5 separate regions of the Homo sapiens genome follow, and regions 2, 3, 4 and 5 are each linked to region 1. Evidence: promoter capture Hi-C in 16 types of primary human blood cells and fetal thymus (Javierre and others, 2016). All regions are on one chromosome and are shown on one strand. Each heading gives the region's core, a stretch centred on a gene start or on the middle of the fragment in contact. The rest is flanking DNA. Distances are from core to core; before and after follow the strand shown. Region 1 holds the start of SS18 (SS18 subunit of BAF chromatin remodeling complex). Region 2 has its middle 87 kb from the start of SS18. Region 3 overlaps PSMA8 (proteasome 20S subunit alpha 8). Region 4 overlaps SS18 (SS18 subunit of BAF chromatin remodeling complex). Region 5 has its middle 18 kb from the start of TAF4B.

What was found. The method cuts DNA at HindIII sites, captures the fragments that hold promoters and counts their contacts. A CHiCAGO score of 5 or more calls a contact.
Region 2: a fragment that was not itself captured here is called in contact with the fragment with the promoter of SS18 in region 1 in 2 of 17 cell types (non-activated CD4 T cells and activated CD4 T cells); the score reaches 5.8 in non-activated CD4 T cells.
Region 3: a contact is called between a fragment that was not itself captured here and the fragment with the promoter of SS18 in region 1, in 8 of 17 cell types (non-activated CD4 T cells, activated CD4 T cells, naive CD8 T cells and 5 more). The highest score is 15.9, in non-activated CD4 T cells.
Region 4: a fragment that was not itself captured here is called in contact with the fragment with the promoter of SS18 in region 1 in 7 of 17 cell types (non-activated CD4 T cells, activated CD4 T cells, total CD8 T cells and 4 more); the score reaches 7.8 in non-activated CD4 T cells.
Region 5: a fragment that was not itself captured here is called in contact with the fragment with the promoter of SS18 in region 1 in 7 of 17 cell types (activated CD4 T cells, naive CD4 T cells, non-activated CD4 T cells and 4 more); the score reaches 15.4 in activated CD4 T cells.

The regions. Positions count from the first base shown.
Region 1 is chr18:26,089,201-26,091,900 of GRCh38, forward strand. SS18 (SS18 subunit of BAF chromatin remodeling complex) reads right to left here and starts at 1,413. Exons shown (of 11, transcript NM_001007559.3): 1 at 1,301-1,413. The coding sequence starts at 1,369. RefSeq lists an enhancer at 1,748-1,867. The HindIII fragment of the contact is 4,894 bases long and covers 1-2,700 here.
Region 2 is chr18:26,001,807-26,004,506 of GRCh38, forward strand. No RefSeq gene overlaps it. Among named protein-coding and RNA genes, the nearest start is that of SS18, 87 kb to the right of the region's middle. RefSeq lists an enhancer at 2,079-2,178. The HindIII fragment of the contact is 3,044 bases long and covers 1-2,700 here.
Region 3 is chr18:26,181,638-26,184,337 of GRCh38, forward strand. All of the region lies in intron 6 of PSMA8 (proteasome 20S subunit alpha 8), which reads left to right. Among named protein-coding and RNA genes, the nearest start is that of TAF4B, 43 kb to the right of the region's middle. The HindIII fragment of the contact is 2,788 bases long and covers 1-2,686 here.
Region 4 is chr18:26,020,970-26,023,669 of GRCh38, forward strand. All of the region lies in intron 10 of SS18 (SS18 subunit of BAF chromatin remodeling complex), which reads right to left. Among named protein-coding and RNA genes, the nearest start is that of SS18, 68 kb to the right of the region's middle. The HindIII fragment of the contact is 1,396 bases long and covers 709-2,104 here.
Region 5 is chr18:26,207,259-26,209,958 of GRCh38, forward strand. No RefSeq gene overlaps it. Among named protein-coding and RNA genes, the nearest start is that of TAF4B, 18 kb to the right of the region's middle. RefSeq lists a silencer at 247-423. The HindIII fragment of the contact is 810 bases long and covers 1,035-1,844 here.

The sequences.
Region 1 (2,700 bases), core at 163-2,662:
TATGTAACAGAAACTATAAAAAAAAAAGAAAAACTCTGGACTTTTCCTGTGTACAAAAATAAAAAAGGTGAGCCCTCCAGAAACGCAGTTTTGCGTGAGTGCGTACTTGGAGCTGTTTGCCAGGCTGCAGACTTAACTCAGAGCACTATATGAAAGCACTGCATTTCCAGGCACTGCCAAGCCCGTTTGTTCATAAAATAAAGCAACAGTTGGGCAAATGTCAAAAGCCACACTACGAAGAACCTGACAGTAAACAGAAACCGATTAGCATAATCTACGTGGTCTGAGTGGTACTAAAACTTGACCTTTTTTTCTATTTTGATCTTTGCTACACAGCATAAAACAAAACAAAAATATTTAAAGTAAACTGCTAAATACAGCAGCAACTTCTGAAAGTCTAGGTCAGTAAAATTTAGAATGCTGCCTTGCTTGCAGGCAACAAGGGGTAGAGGACAATAAAGAACCTTTGTGTTCCGACTGGCAGTAACACAGCAGCGACTGCAGCAGCTCTATCCTTTAAAAAGGAGGCAGCTCCCTGTGTATTTATCACGACTTACATTAACTGGTCACGACAGTCTCCACCATTAGACTGTAAGCTCCAGGAAGGCAAGGACCATGACTCACCACAGTAGCCTCAGCGCCTAAAATAGGCGCTCAATAAATATTTGCTGCAGAATAAATGAATAGGCGGCGATGCAGAAGGGAAGAAGAGGCTCTGGGGACAACCCCAGAGTCCATGGGGACCTTCCTTGCCCGCTCCTCAAACTCTATACTAAGGTTCCCTCCAGCGTTCCCCAAGTCCTCCTGCGAGCTCCCAAACTCGGCTGAGTTTGCAGGGCGGCGACCAGCGCACCGACTTCCCCTCTGCCTGCCGCGACCCGCGGTGGGGTCCGCACGAAGCAGCCGCGGCACGCGGGGCGGGGCGACGCCAAAGTAACTCCGGAGCAACGCGCGGGGCCGCCGGTCCGACACACGCCCTTCCCTGAGCGGCCGCCGCCGGGCGCACGCGCCCCGCAGCCCGAACGCCGCCCCATCCCTAGAGAAATCAGGCGGCGGCTGTTTGGGCTTTTGTGTCTGTAGAAAAACGCGTAAATGCGTGAAAGACTCCGAGAAAAACCGGTTCACCCTCTTCCGCCACCCACTCAGGCACAGCCAGCAGTCCGTGTTCCCAAACACTGCTGATTCCCAGCAGGCCCGCCTCCGCCTCGGCCCGGTCGACTCCGGGCCCGGCCCTTCCCCCCGCGTCTGTCTCTCCCAGAGGCGGTAAGGGCCTGGCATCCGCAACCCCGCGCGGTTTCACCTTCTGAATCGCAGCGGGAGTGATCTCCCCCTTGCCTCGCTGCCTCGGGGCCGCGAAAGCCACAGACATGTTGCCGCCGTCACCACTATCGGCAAGTCCCGAGCGCTCCGGGTGAACGGCAAACTGGGGGAGAGACGCCGGCCTCTCGGGCTGAACCACCTCGGGAATGCGGGGAGGGGGGATGCTCCGGGGCCAAGCGGACGGGCGGCGGGGCAGGCCTGAAGGAGGCACTCTGGCCAGGGATGTCTCGCTTCTGCGCACTCTGGGGGACCCCTAGCCCTGGCCGAACTTTCTTGACCGTCCCTGCATCCCCCGAGCTCTCCTTATGGGCACCCCCTGGCCCTTTGCGCTAATGGTAGAGTCGCGCCCTAGTCCTCCCTCCGCTTCAGCGATTCAGGAAATGGTCCCGCCGCCGCGGGAGAAGGAGAGGCTGGGGCAGCCCCTGTCACAGGAAATGCGAGCGGCCCAAGCCGGCCCGCCCCCTTCGCGCCGTGGCAACTTGCCTCCCTCTCCGGCCCTCTGAAGCGTCTCCCCGACTGTGTTGCAGAGCGTGCCCTAGACCTAGTTCAGTTTTTCCAACTTCATCCTTACTTACGCCTCCTGGCAAGAGTGGCCGCCCCGAGTTGTCCCGGCAGCCCGGAGAGGGGAGGGAGGTCAAGACTCGGGAGTTCGTGCAAATCCGTGGAGCATCTGCCGAGATAGGGCAGAGGTGGAAGGACAAGGTGAACGCGGATTCGCTGGTTTAAATGGCTCGGCTACGCCCCAAATGCGCACCTCCGAGTCCACAGTCTCGCACGCACGCACAAAGTCGTGCCTAACAATTGGAAAGTAACCCTGACCCGAAACCGGGACACCAAGGTTGTGTCCAGTGCTCAGGGGCAATCGGCCAGCTTGGCTGGAGCGGACAGAGAAGAGCTCGCCTCTTGGGACAAACCCTTAGCAGGAAAGTGGGTCGATTTCGTCTGACTTGGCTTTTTGGAATTAAGTTGTGAAACAGGGCATCCTCACTCTCTGTTTTTTAAGAGAGTACTTACTTAGTGCCTTGTAAATTAGGCCCAAGCTGCCAGGCTTCAAGTCAGTGTAAGGGAAAAAGGCAAAGTTTTCAAATTATGGAAGGAACACGGACAAATGTGGGTTTTGTGTTGCCGTGGGGTTTTAAAGTATTCTGTAAATTTAGACTTCCATATAACACAAAGGGAAAGTTTATATAAAGTGTTACCCAACGTTAATGAATAATAAAAAATATTTCCATTTTTATATAAATTGGAAAAATAAAGAAAAAATACATTATTTTAAAAATTTAATCACTTGAGGCCAGGAGTTTGAGACCAGCCTGGGCAACAAAGTGAGACCTCTGTCTCTACAAGAATTTTAAAAATTGGCTGGGTATGGTGGTGTGC
Region 2 (2,700 bases), core at 3-2,502, 88 kb before region 1:
TTCAACTCATACTAATAACCAAAGAAATAAATATTAGAATAAACTACCATTTTTATCTGTGAGATTAACGAAGACTTACTTTTAAAAAATGCTAAGCCAGGCCCAATGGCTCACACCTGGAATCCCAATATTTTGGGGGGCAAAGTCCAGAGGATCACTTACGGCCAGGATCTCAAGATCAGCCTAGGCAACATAGGGAGACCCCCAACTCTACACACATTTTTAAAAATTAGCCAGGTGTGGTGGTGCACTCCTGTAGTCCTAGCTATTCCGGAGGCTGAGGCAGGAGGATCGTTTGCCCCCAGGAGTTGAAGGCTGCATGAACTATGATCATGCCACTGCACTGCAGCCTAGTGACAGAGCAAGGCCTGTCTCCAAAAAAATGTTACTAGTTAAAAATTAAAAAATAAAAATGCTAAAAATTGACAAAGGAGGATTAATATATACTCAGTCTATTCTAGGAGTATAAATTAGTATAATCTCATTGGAAAGAAATATGGCAGTATTTATCCAGAGTGTCAGAAAATGTTTATATACTTTGAGAAGATAATCCCATTTTAGGAATCTATCCTAAAGAAATAACCCCAAATAACAGTAATTTACTTATTTAGCACTTACCACATGCCAGGAACTACTATATCTAATGTATTAACATGCAATAACATTGAGAAATTTGAGTAATATATTAACTCATTTAATCCTTACAACCCTGAGGTAGTTAAGTATACTATTCTCTCTAGTTAGAGATACAGCAACTGCAGCACAGTTTCAATTGTTGCCCAAGGTTTCAAAACTAGTTAGTGATGAAACTAAAAAGGCAAGACTCAAACCCAGGCAGTCTGACTCCAGGTTCTATGTGCTTAATCACTCTGCTGCACTGCCTCTCAGGATAAACAGAAATACAAAGATGTTCGCCTCAGCAATACTGATGATAGGAATTTCCAGAAGAAAAGCCAAATATTCTATGATAGGGGAAATGACTAAGCAAAAGACAGAGTAGATAACATATTATACTTATTTTTTTAATATAGTTTTTAAATTATAGGTTATTATTTAGGTTATTATAGACTCTAAGAAACTTTATTAAGAAAATTAAAATGATTGTACTGAAAATGCAAATAATATGGTTTGGTTTTAAAAACACTTACATTGTTCTTCCTCTAGTCTAAAGCACTATCAATTATAAGAGTAAGACATATCATTATTTTATGTTATAAAGAAAGAGAACAAATCTCAATTTCAGAGATACTAAAATGTGAACTCAATGGATCTCAGATTTAGTTCCAACTAGGAGGTATTCTTTCTCTGAAGATAATTTTTGATCTGAGTTCCCAAATATGAAACTCAATGCAGTGTGGCTATTCTTTTAGGCCTGAATGTTTATACAAAGTCCCTTCTCCATTGTGGCAACCTTATTGATCCATTAGCCCAAATATGAGTCAACAGATCCTTCACATCAAGGAGCCCTTGCTATCTCTTTTGGAAAGAAGAGGAGAAATTATTACTAACAATTACACATGCCAGACCAGAAGCCCATCACTCCCACTGTAAGGAAACTTTATAGCAGAGGAACTTGAGAATTCTTCAAAGCCATAAAATATGAAAAAGAAAACAGGTTTAACAAGTGGCTTGAAAGAACACGGTTGAGTGAATACTATGCAGTAAGGAAAGCCATTTGGAATATCACAGATTATTTAGGGAGGATTATACAGAGGGATAGAGAAACACTGGGAAATAGAAGGAGCATTGTTAAGGTGGAACTGGCATGGAGCCAAGGCTATGAGAACATTGTGAAGCACAGAGGCAGAAGGAAGCTCATGATGGTAAGATTGTTACAGGTATCATATAGTTGTCTATACTGGTAAAAGAGCAAAATAGTGCATGCTTTCCTAGCAAGTCGGATTCTAATGGTTTAGCTCTGGGCACAGACTAGCAGAAAACAGACAGTAAAGAGAGAAAATGTTGTCATATATGTCATCGTTCCATCTGCATTCCCACAAAATATCTTCCACCAAGGAGACTTTTTTTTTTAATTGAGGGGCAATGGGACAGTTAGCTATGTTTATCATTTTAATTATTGCAATGCTATGATTCATTAATAAATCACTGGTATGACCAAGCATCTACTCCAGACCTACTCAAAACGAAACGTACCCTTCTAGTATACAGCTTAAGTATAGACATCTATACAGGTGCACAATCTCCTCTCCAGCCTCGTGGGGCCAGATGTGTGCATAGGCAGTATATTACATGGCACCTCCAGGGGACGCTGAATCAGATAAAGAGACTATAACCTCACCATGGGTCAGACCAGGTTTTATAGCCAAATGACCTCAGGGCTGGTCAGGATTTTGGAATTTTGGCTAAGGCACTGTGGACTCAGGTTAAAGCCCTAACTTTTACCTCTAATCCATCTATTTTACTACTTCATTTTCAATGTATGAATCCTAAATGTCTCTATATATCCTAATTAATAACATTTCTAATAATCAATATTTATGGAACTCCCATTACATAACTGGGCATTATTCTAGGCATCATTCTAGACATCAAGTGACTAGTAGTAGACAAAACAAAACCCCTGCCTTCGGGGAGCTTTCAATGACTCCCCTGGGACAATGAGAGAATTCATAAATGAGCTATAAATAATTAAAGAGTTCAGTGTTTCATTCCTAAATCTATTCATGGCTGCCAAAAAGA
Region 3 (2,700 bases), core at 43-2,542, 92 kb after region 1:
TTAAAAGTACTTAAAGAAATTTAAAGTGCTACTGCAAGGGAACACGTGAATGATAAGAAACTGAAACAGCCAGGCCAGGCGTGGTGGCACGCACCTGGCCAACATGGCAAAACCTGTCTCTACTAAAAATACAAAATTTAGCCACGTGTGGTGGCACGCACCTGTAATCCCAGCTACTCGGCAGGCTGAGGCAGGAGAATCGCTTGAACCTGAGAGGCGGAGGTTGCAGTGAGCTGAGATGGCACCACTGCACTCCAGCCTGGGCAACAGAGTGAGACGCCATCTGAAAAAAAAAAAAAAAACCAGTCTTGTTACTGATATGGAGGTTTTAGTGGCCTGGCTGGAAGATCAAACCAGCCACAACATTCCTCTAAGCCAAAGCCTAATCCAGAGCAAAGTCCTAACTTTCTTCAATTCTGTGAAGGCTGAGAGGGGTGAGGAAGCGGAAGAAGAAAAGGCTGGAGCTAACAGAGGTTGGTTCATGAGGTTTAAGGAAAGAAGCCACCTTCATAACATAAAGGTGCAAGGTGAAGCAGCAAGTACTGATGGAGAAGCTGCAGCAAGTTATCCAGAAGATCTAGCTAAGACATTTATCTTCAGTGAAGGTGGTTATACTAAACAACAGATTTTCAATGTAGATGAAACAGCTTTCTGCTGGAAGAAGATACCATCTAAAATTTTCATAGCTAGAGATAGGAGAAATCACCTCACTGCCTGGCTTCAAGGGACGGACTGTCTTGTTAGGGGATAATGCAGCTGGTAACTTTAAGTAGAAGCCAGTGCTCATTTACAATCAATGGATGACAGCACATCTATTTATAGCATAGTATACTGAATATTTTAAGCCCACTACTGAGACCTAACACTCAAAAAAAGAAGATTCCTTTCAAAATGTTACTGCTCATTCACAGTCCACCTAGTCACCCAGTAGCTCCGATGGACATGTACAAGGAAATTAATGTTTTCGTGCCTGCTAACACATCTTTCTGCAGCACATGCATCAAGGCGTAATTTTGACTTTCAAGTCTTATTATTCAAGAAATATGGCCAGGCATAGTGGCTCACACCTATAATCTCAACACTTTGGGAGGCCAAGGCAGAAGAATTGCTAGAGGCTAGAGGTTTGAGATCAGCCTGGGCAACATAGTTAGACTGTGTCTCTACCAACATTGGCTGGGCACGGTAGCTCATGCCTGTAATCCCAGCACTTTGGGAGGCCGGAGGCAGGTGGATCACTTGAGATCAGGAGTTCAAGACCAGCCTGGCCAACATGGTGAAACCCCGTCTCTACCACAAATACAAAAATTAGCTGGGTGTGGTGGGGGGAATCTGTAATCCCAGCTACTTAGGAGGCTGAGGCAGGAGAATTGCTTGAACCCAGGAGTTGGAGGTTGCAATGAGCCAAGATCATGCTATCGCACTCCAGACAGGGCAGCAGAACGAGACTCTGTCTCAAAAAAAACAAACAAAAAGGCCGGGCGTGGTGGCTCATGCTTGTAATCCCAGCACTTTGGGAGGCCAAGGTGGGTGGATTGCTTGAGGTCAGGAGTTTAAGACCAGCCTGATCAATATGGTGAAACCCTGTCTCTACTGAAAATACAAAAATTAGCTGGGCGTGGTGGTGGGCACCTGTAATCCCAGCTACTCAGGAGGCTAAGGCAGGAGAATCGCTTGAACCTGGGAGGCAGAGGTTGCCGTGAGCCAAGATCGCACCATTGCAGTCCAGCCTGGGTGACAGAGCAAGACTCCGTCTAAAAAAAAAAAAATTAACAAACAAACAAAAATATCAACATTAACAGGAGTTTAGAATAAGTTGATTCCAACCCTTATGAATGACTTTCAGGAGTTCAAGACTTTAGTGGAGGAAGTCACTGCAGATGTGGTACAAATAGCAAGAGAACTAAAATTAGAAGTGGAGCCTGAATATGCAACTGAATTGCTGCAATCTTGTGATAAAACAGATGATGAGTTGCTTCTTAAAGATGAGAAAAGAATGTGGTTTCTTGGATGAAATCTACTCCTGGTTATGATGCTGTAAATATTGTTGAAATAACAACAAAACATTTAGAGTGTTACATAAATAAAGCAGTGACAAGGTTTGAGAGGATTGACTCCAGTTCTGAAAAGTTCAATTGTGAGTAAAATGCTATCAAACAGCATCTCATGCTATAGAGAAATCTTTTGGGAAAGGAAGAGTCTATCAATGTGGCAAACCTCATTGTTGTCTTATTTTAAGAAATTCCCACAGCCACTTCAACCTTCAGCAACCACTACCCTGATGAGTCAGCTCCATCATCAAGACAAGACCCCACCAGCAAAAAGATTACTACTTGCTGGAGGCTTACATGATTGTTAGCATTTTTTAGCAATAAAGTGTTTTCAAATTAAGATATGTTGATTTTTTTAGACATAAGGCTATTGCACACTCAATAGACTACAGTATAGTGTAAACATAACTTTAATATGCACTGGGAAACCAAAACATTTATGTGACTCAATATTTGCCTTACTGCTGTGGTCCTGAACCAAATCCACAATTTTTCCAAGGTATGCCTGTATGTGTATTCATAAACAGAGAGAGAATATCAATATGTAGTCTGTTTCAGTCATTTATTCTGGCTTAAAGCAGCTGTATCTTTTTACCTTAGATGAAAAATTTAAAAAGAACGTAAAGAATGTTATGTAAAGCTTGTCATTTTC
Region 4 (2,700 bases), core at 157-2,656, 68 kb before region 1:
TCACATATTGTATTAAATGCTTTGTGTCCATCTATATATAGTAAATATTACCTCCATTTTATAGAAGAAGAAATGGAGGCACTGAGAGTCTAAGTAACTTGGCCCATACTTGATCACAATGCTAGGACCAAACAAAACCACAATCATGCCTAAAAAGGTAGGCTGTGTATCTGCAACCATTAACAAATTCCAAGGTGGCATTAAGGATTAAAAGTACGGCTTTTGGAGCCAGAAACCAATTTCTAGTGCTAACGTCACCACTTAACAGCTTCTTATCCTTGGGCAAGTTGCTTAACCTCCCTGAGTTTCAATTTTATCATCTGACAAGGGTAATTATAATCTCTATTTTAAAAAGTTATTCAAGAAGAAAAACATGAAAATGCTCTGTGAACTACTCAAGTACTCATTAACAGTATGGGTGGCAGCATGGTACAGTGAACAGAGCATGGGCTTTCAGCACTCAGCAGTAGTCATGCAGCTTCACCACTCCTGAATTCTGTCATCTTGAGTAAATCACTTGAACACTCTAAGCCTCACCTTCTCTCTCTTTGCTCTTCAATTTTTAAAAAAAATTCCTCTGACTACAGTATAAAGAATTTTAATGGGAAAGAAGACAGTATGGAAGATCCTACTGCGATGAAGACAGGAGATGAACATGGTCTAAACTAAGATAAGGGTGTAGGTTAGAAAGAAATGAATGGGTTCAAAAGCTTTTCAAAAAGGAAGATCAATAACATTTGTCATTTATTAGACAAGGGAGGAAAAGCAGGGACACTTAAATACCAAACAGGCACTTGGCAATCTAGCTTGGTGATAGTACCCCTCTCTTTGATAAAGAACACAGAAAAGTTTTGGTAGAAAAAATTATAAATTTATTTTGTTTCTGCTGAATTAATACCTATGATACATCTAAGCAGAGCTGTCGAGTAGGCATCTAATTTCCAGAAGAGAGATTGAGACTATAAATAGAGATTTGGGAGTCAACAGCATGGTGAACTGAGACCTTGTGAATAAATGAGAATGCCTAGGGAGAGTATATTGAATGAGAAGAGTTCCTAAGGTAGAAATCTGAGCAATACCAAAATCTTTACATTTCTTTCCTTCATTCTATTTACCTAATCAGTTTAAAATCTTAACATTATTCCTTCACAACATTTTAGGGGTTTCCTCTTAACTCTGGTCTTGTGATCACGCATTCAAATCTAGAAAGTAGTGGCCTTATTTACTCAGTTGTTTATACTTTATTCACCAATATTTACTGATTATGTGCTGTGCTCTACTAGGTGACAGAGACTCAACAGTAATAAAAACAGACAAAGCGATGCTTTTAAAGAGGTTACATTCTTGGGGAAGAAGAATATGACAATAAACAGTAACAAAATAATCTGTCAAATGAAGAGAAATGTTATGTTGAAAAATTAATGCATGTTTCTATTCAAGATGGATTTATCTGGCAGCCTGAAACAATAAAAAAAAAAAAAACTACACAAAGCATATGATAATCATATTCAGGACACACAGGACAGAGCCAACAAAGGACAATGATCCCTGAGACATGGTAAACAAATGAGGCCAGCCCTCTGACTACCACAGCTAACTACCTTGAGAGTTTCCAGTCTGCAGTGCACGAAGGGGAACTGAGGCTGAGTCTGCCAGATGTTCTGACTTAAGGAGATAAGGCTTAGAGTCTGGAGAGAAAAAGGTAGCTAGAGTTAACAGGACAGAGTACCCTACAAGAAAGATCTGCCTAAAGAGACAACTGTGGAGATGTGCAGAGGAACCCTCCTCCTATTCAGCATAGTACAGATATGCAAATGTGTGAGGAAAATACCCAGGGCTGAGGCAAGAAACACCCAAAAGGATTAGGGGAAACAATACTTGTTTGTCACATAGGAACAGAATCAGTGCTTATTCCCACCAGTCAGAGTAAAAAGCCTTACAATTCAAAGGGCATTGGGCAAAACACCCAAAAGGCTCTTACCTTATCAGTGATGAGTATTTAGCCCAGGACTAAACACTGCTCTTTGTCCTGCCTAGAATATCTTAAAAGCAATTTCAGAAAGTTCAAACTGTTTGTAACTTATTAAACTGAATCCCAAAGCAAAGCTTAAGAATATCTCTAGGTATACATATATCTTCATCACCCAACATAAAATTCACAATGTCTGGAATCCAATCAAAGATTATCACGCACACAAAGGACAGAGAAAAAAAACTGATTAAAACTGACCCTAAAATGACATAGATTATTAGAGTTGGCAGAAGAGGATATTAAAAGAATTATATTTGTATTCCATATGTTCAAAACAATTAAGGACAGACACGGAAGATATTAAAAAGACCTAAACCAAACTTGTAGAGATGAAAATGACAAAGTCTGAGATAACACTCAACAAACTCCAAGCATAAGAAACATGAAGAAATCAACACCAATGCATGCTCTCATCAAATTGCTCAAAACAATTTGGGCAAGAGAGAAATTTCTTCAATCAAACAATTTGATAAAGGGAAAATCTTAAAAACAGAGAAAAAAGACATATTAACTACAAAAGAACAAAGATAAATGACAGCAAATGTCTCCTTGGAAACAATGTAAGGAAGAAAAGAGTGGAGCATCTTTAAAGTATGGAAAGAAAACAAAAACAAACTGTCCACCTAGAATTCTATACCCAGAGAAAATATCTTTCAAAAATAAAGGCA
Region 5 (2,700 bases), core at 190-2,689, 120 kb after region 1:
TCTCCTGAGTAGCCAGGATTACAGGCGCCTGCCACCACATCAGCTGGTTCTTTTGTATTCTTAGTAGAGACAGGGTTTCACCTTGTTAGACAGGCTGGTCTGGAACTCTTGACCTCAGGTGATCCACCCACCTCGGCCTCCCAAATTGCTGAGATTACAGGTGTGAGCCACTAAGCCCAGCCAACCTTTCATAGTTAACTCTCCTCCTCTTTCCAAAGTCTCCAGTTCCAATTCTACAAAGAGTAAATGTGCTTAGACCGGCTGATATTTTTTGTATCAGGGTCACTGTGGTCAGTCAAAGGATTGGCTGTCCTTGGGACTGCATCCTATTGTTTGTCCAGACAGCAGTGACAGCAGTATAGGGTCAAGTGGTCCCAGCTGGGGATGTCCTTTGTGTCACTAAAACGGTTCTTTTGCAAGGGACTGTGGATGGAGCAGGCATCATGACTTACTTGTGTAACACACACATGCTTCTCTCATTGAAAATACTTTTTTTTTTTTTGAGACAAGTTCTCACTATGTCACCCATGTTGGAATGCAGTGGCACGATCACACATCACTGCAACCTCAAACTCCTGGGCTCAAGCAATCCTCCCACTTCAGCCTCTCAAATAACTAGGACTACAGGCATGCACCACACACCCAGCTAATTTCGTTTATTTTCTGTAGAGACAAGTTTTCACTATGTTGCCCAGGCTCGTCTCAAGCTCCTGGACTCAGGTGATCCTCCTGCCTTGGCCTCCCAAAGTGCTGGGATTACAGGAGTGAGCCACCATGCCTGACCCTGAAAAGACTTCTTTTTCTCTTCCTTTTTATGAAGCAGACTGTGGAAATGTCTCATGACTCACCACAATAATCCTCCTCCAAGGTGCCTATTCTCAGGCTCAGTTAGAGGCCTGACCTCTTTGTTGTAACCTGTGTCACATTGTCTAGTAATCCTATCATATTTGTATCTCCTGTTAGATTGTGAGCATCTCACGCTCAGATCTGTAATCTTAGAGTCGGGGCCTCAGTGAATGATTACTGAAAAAGCAAGCTTTAACTTGATTAAGTGTTAGGCAGGGAGTGTTATTCACTCCCTGAAGAAAAAGAAGGGAGTGGGGATGGATTATTCTTTTTGACAGGAAAGGTGTGCAGCTCATTAAAAAGGTTGTCCTGGCCGGGCCCAGTGGTTCATGCCTGTAATCCCAACACTTTGGGAGGTTGAGGCGGGTGGATCACCTGAGGTCAGGCATTCGAGACCAGCCCAGCCAACATGAAGAAACCCTGTCTCTACTAAAAATACAAAAAACAGCTGGGCATGGTGGGGCGAGCCTGTAATCCCAGCTACTCAGGAGGCTGAGGCAAGAGAATCGCTTGAACCTGGGGATCGGAGGTTGCAGTTAGCTGAGAATGTGCCATTGCACTCCAGCCTGGGTGACAGGAGTGAAACTACTCTGTCTCAAAAAAAAAAAAAGGTTATCCTTATTAAGAACTGTCTTTTTGGCCAGGCGCAGTGGCTCACGCTTGTAATCTCAGCACTTGGGGAGGCCAAGGCAGGCAGATCACCTGAGGTCAGGAGTTGGAGACCAGCCTGGCCAACATGGCAAAACCCCATCTCTACTAAAATACAAAGATTATCTGGGCGAGGTGGCACACACCTGTAATCCCAGCTACCTGGGAGGCTGAGGTAGACAAATCACTTGAACCCAGGAGACGGAAGTTGCAGTGCACTGAGATCATGCCACTGCACTCCAGCCTGGGTAATAGAGTGAGACTCTGTCTCAAAAAACAAACAAAACAAACTGGCTTTGGTGGGAAAATGTATGCTATTTGGCAAAGGAGCAGCCTCAGCAGTTTCCCAAAGCTTATCTTCCTAAAACTTCTTGTGCAATGTCATTTGATCAAATGTTCCTGGTTGGCGAAATTTGTGAAACATTGTCTTAAAGAAAGTAAAGCAGGCTGGGTGTGGTAGCTCACGCCTCTAGTTCCAGCTACTCTAAAGGCTAAAGTGGGAAGGTGGCTTGAGCCCAAGAGTTCCAGGCTGCACTAAGTCACCCAGCCTGGTCCACAGAGTGAGACCTTGTCTCAAAAAACAAAACAAACAAAGTAAAGCAGTTTTCTTTACTGTAGAGGTTATCAAAATGTGGTCTGTCTACCCCCAGGTATCTGAGTCCATTTCATGAAGTACATGAGGGTCTTAATTATTTTCATACAATACTAAGATGTTTGCTTTTTTCACTATGTGGAAAAAACAGTATGTGGCATTACATTTCTACTGATGGTATAAAGGCAATAGTGGTTTATATTGCTGGAGCATTAGAACGTTAAGGCAATGACATGTGATGGTTAGTTTCATCATCATTATTATTATTATTATTATTATTATTATTATTATTATTATTATTATTTTGAGACAGAGTCTTGCTCTGACCCCCAGGTTGGAGTGGAGTGCAGTGGCGCGATCTCGGCTCGCTGCAAGCTCCGCCTTCTGGGTTCACGCCATTCTCTGGCCTCAGTCTCCTGAGTAGCTGGGACTACAGCACCTGCCACCGTGCCCGGCTACTTTTTTTTTGTATTTTTAGTAGAGACGGGGTTTCACCGTGGTCTTGATCTCCTGACCTCATGATCCGCCCACCTCGGCCTCCCAAAGTGCTGGAATTACAGGCGTGAGCCACTGTGCCTGGCCTATTATTATTATTTTGAGACAGAGTCTTGCTT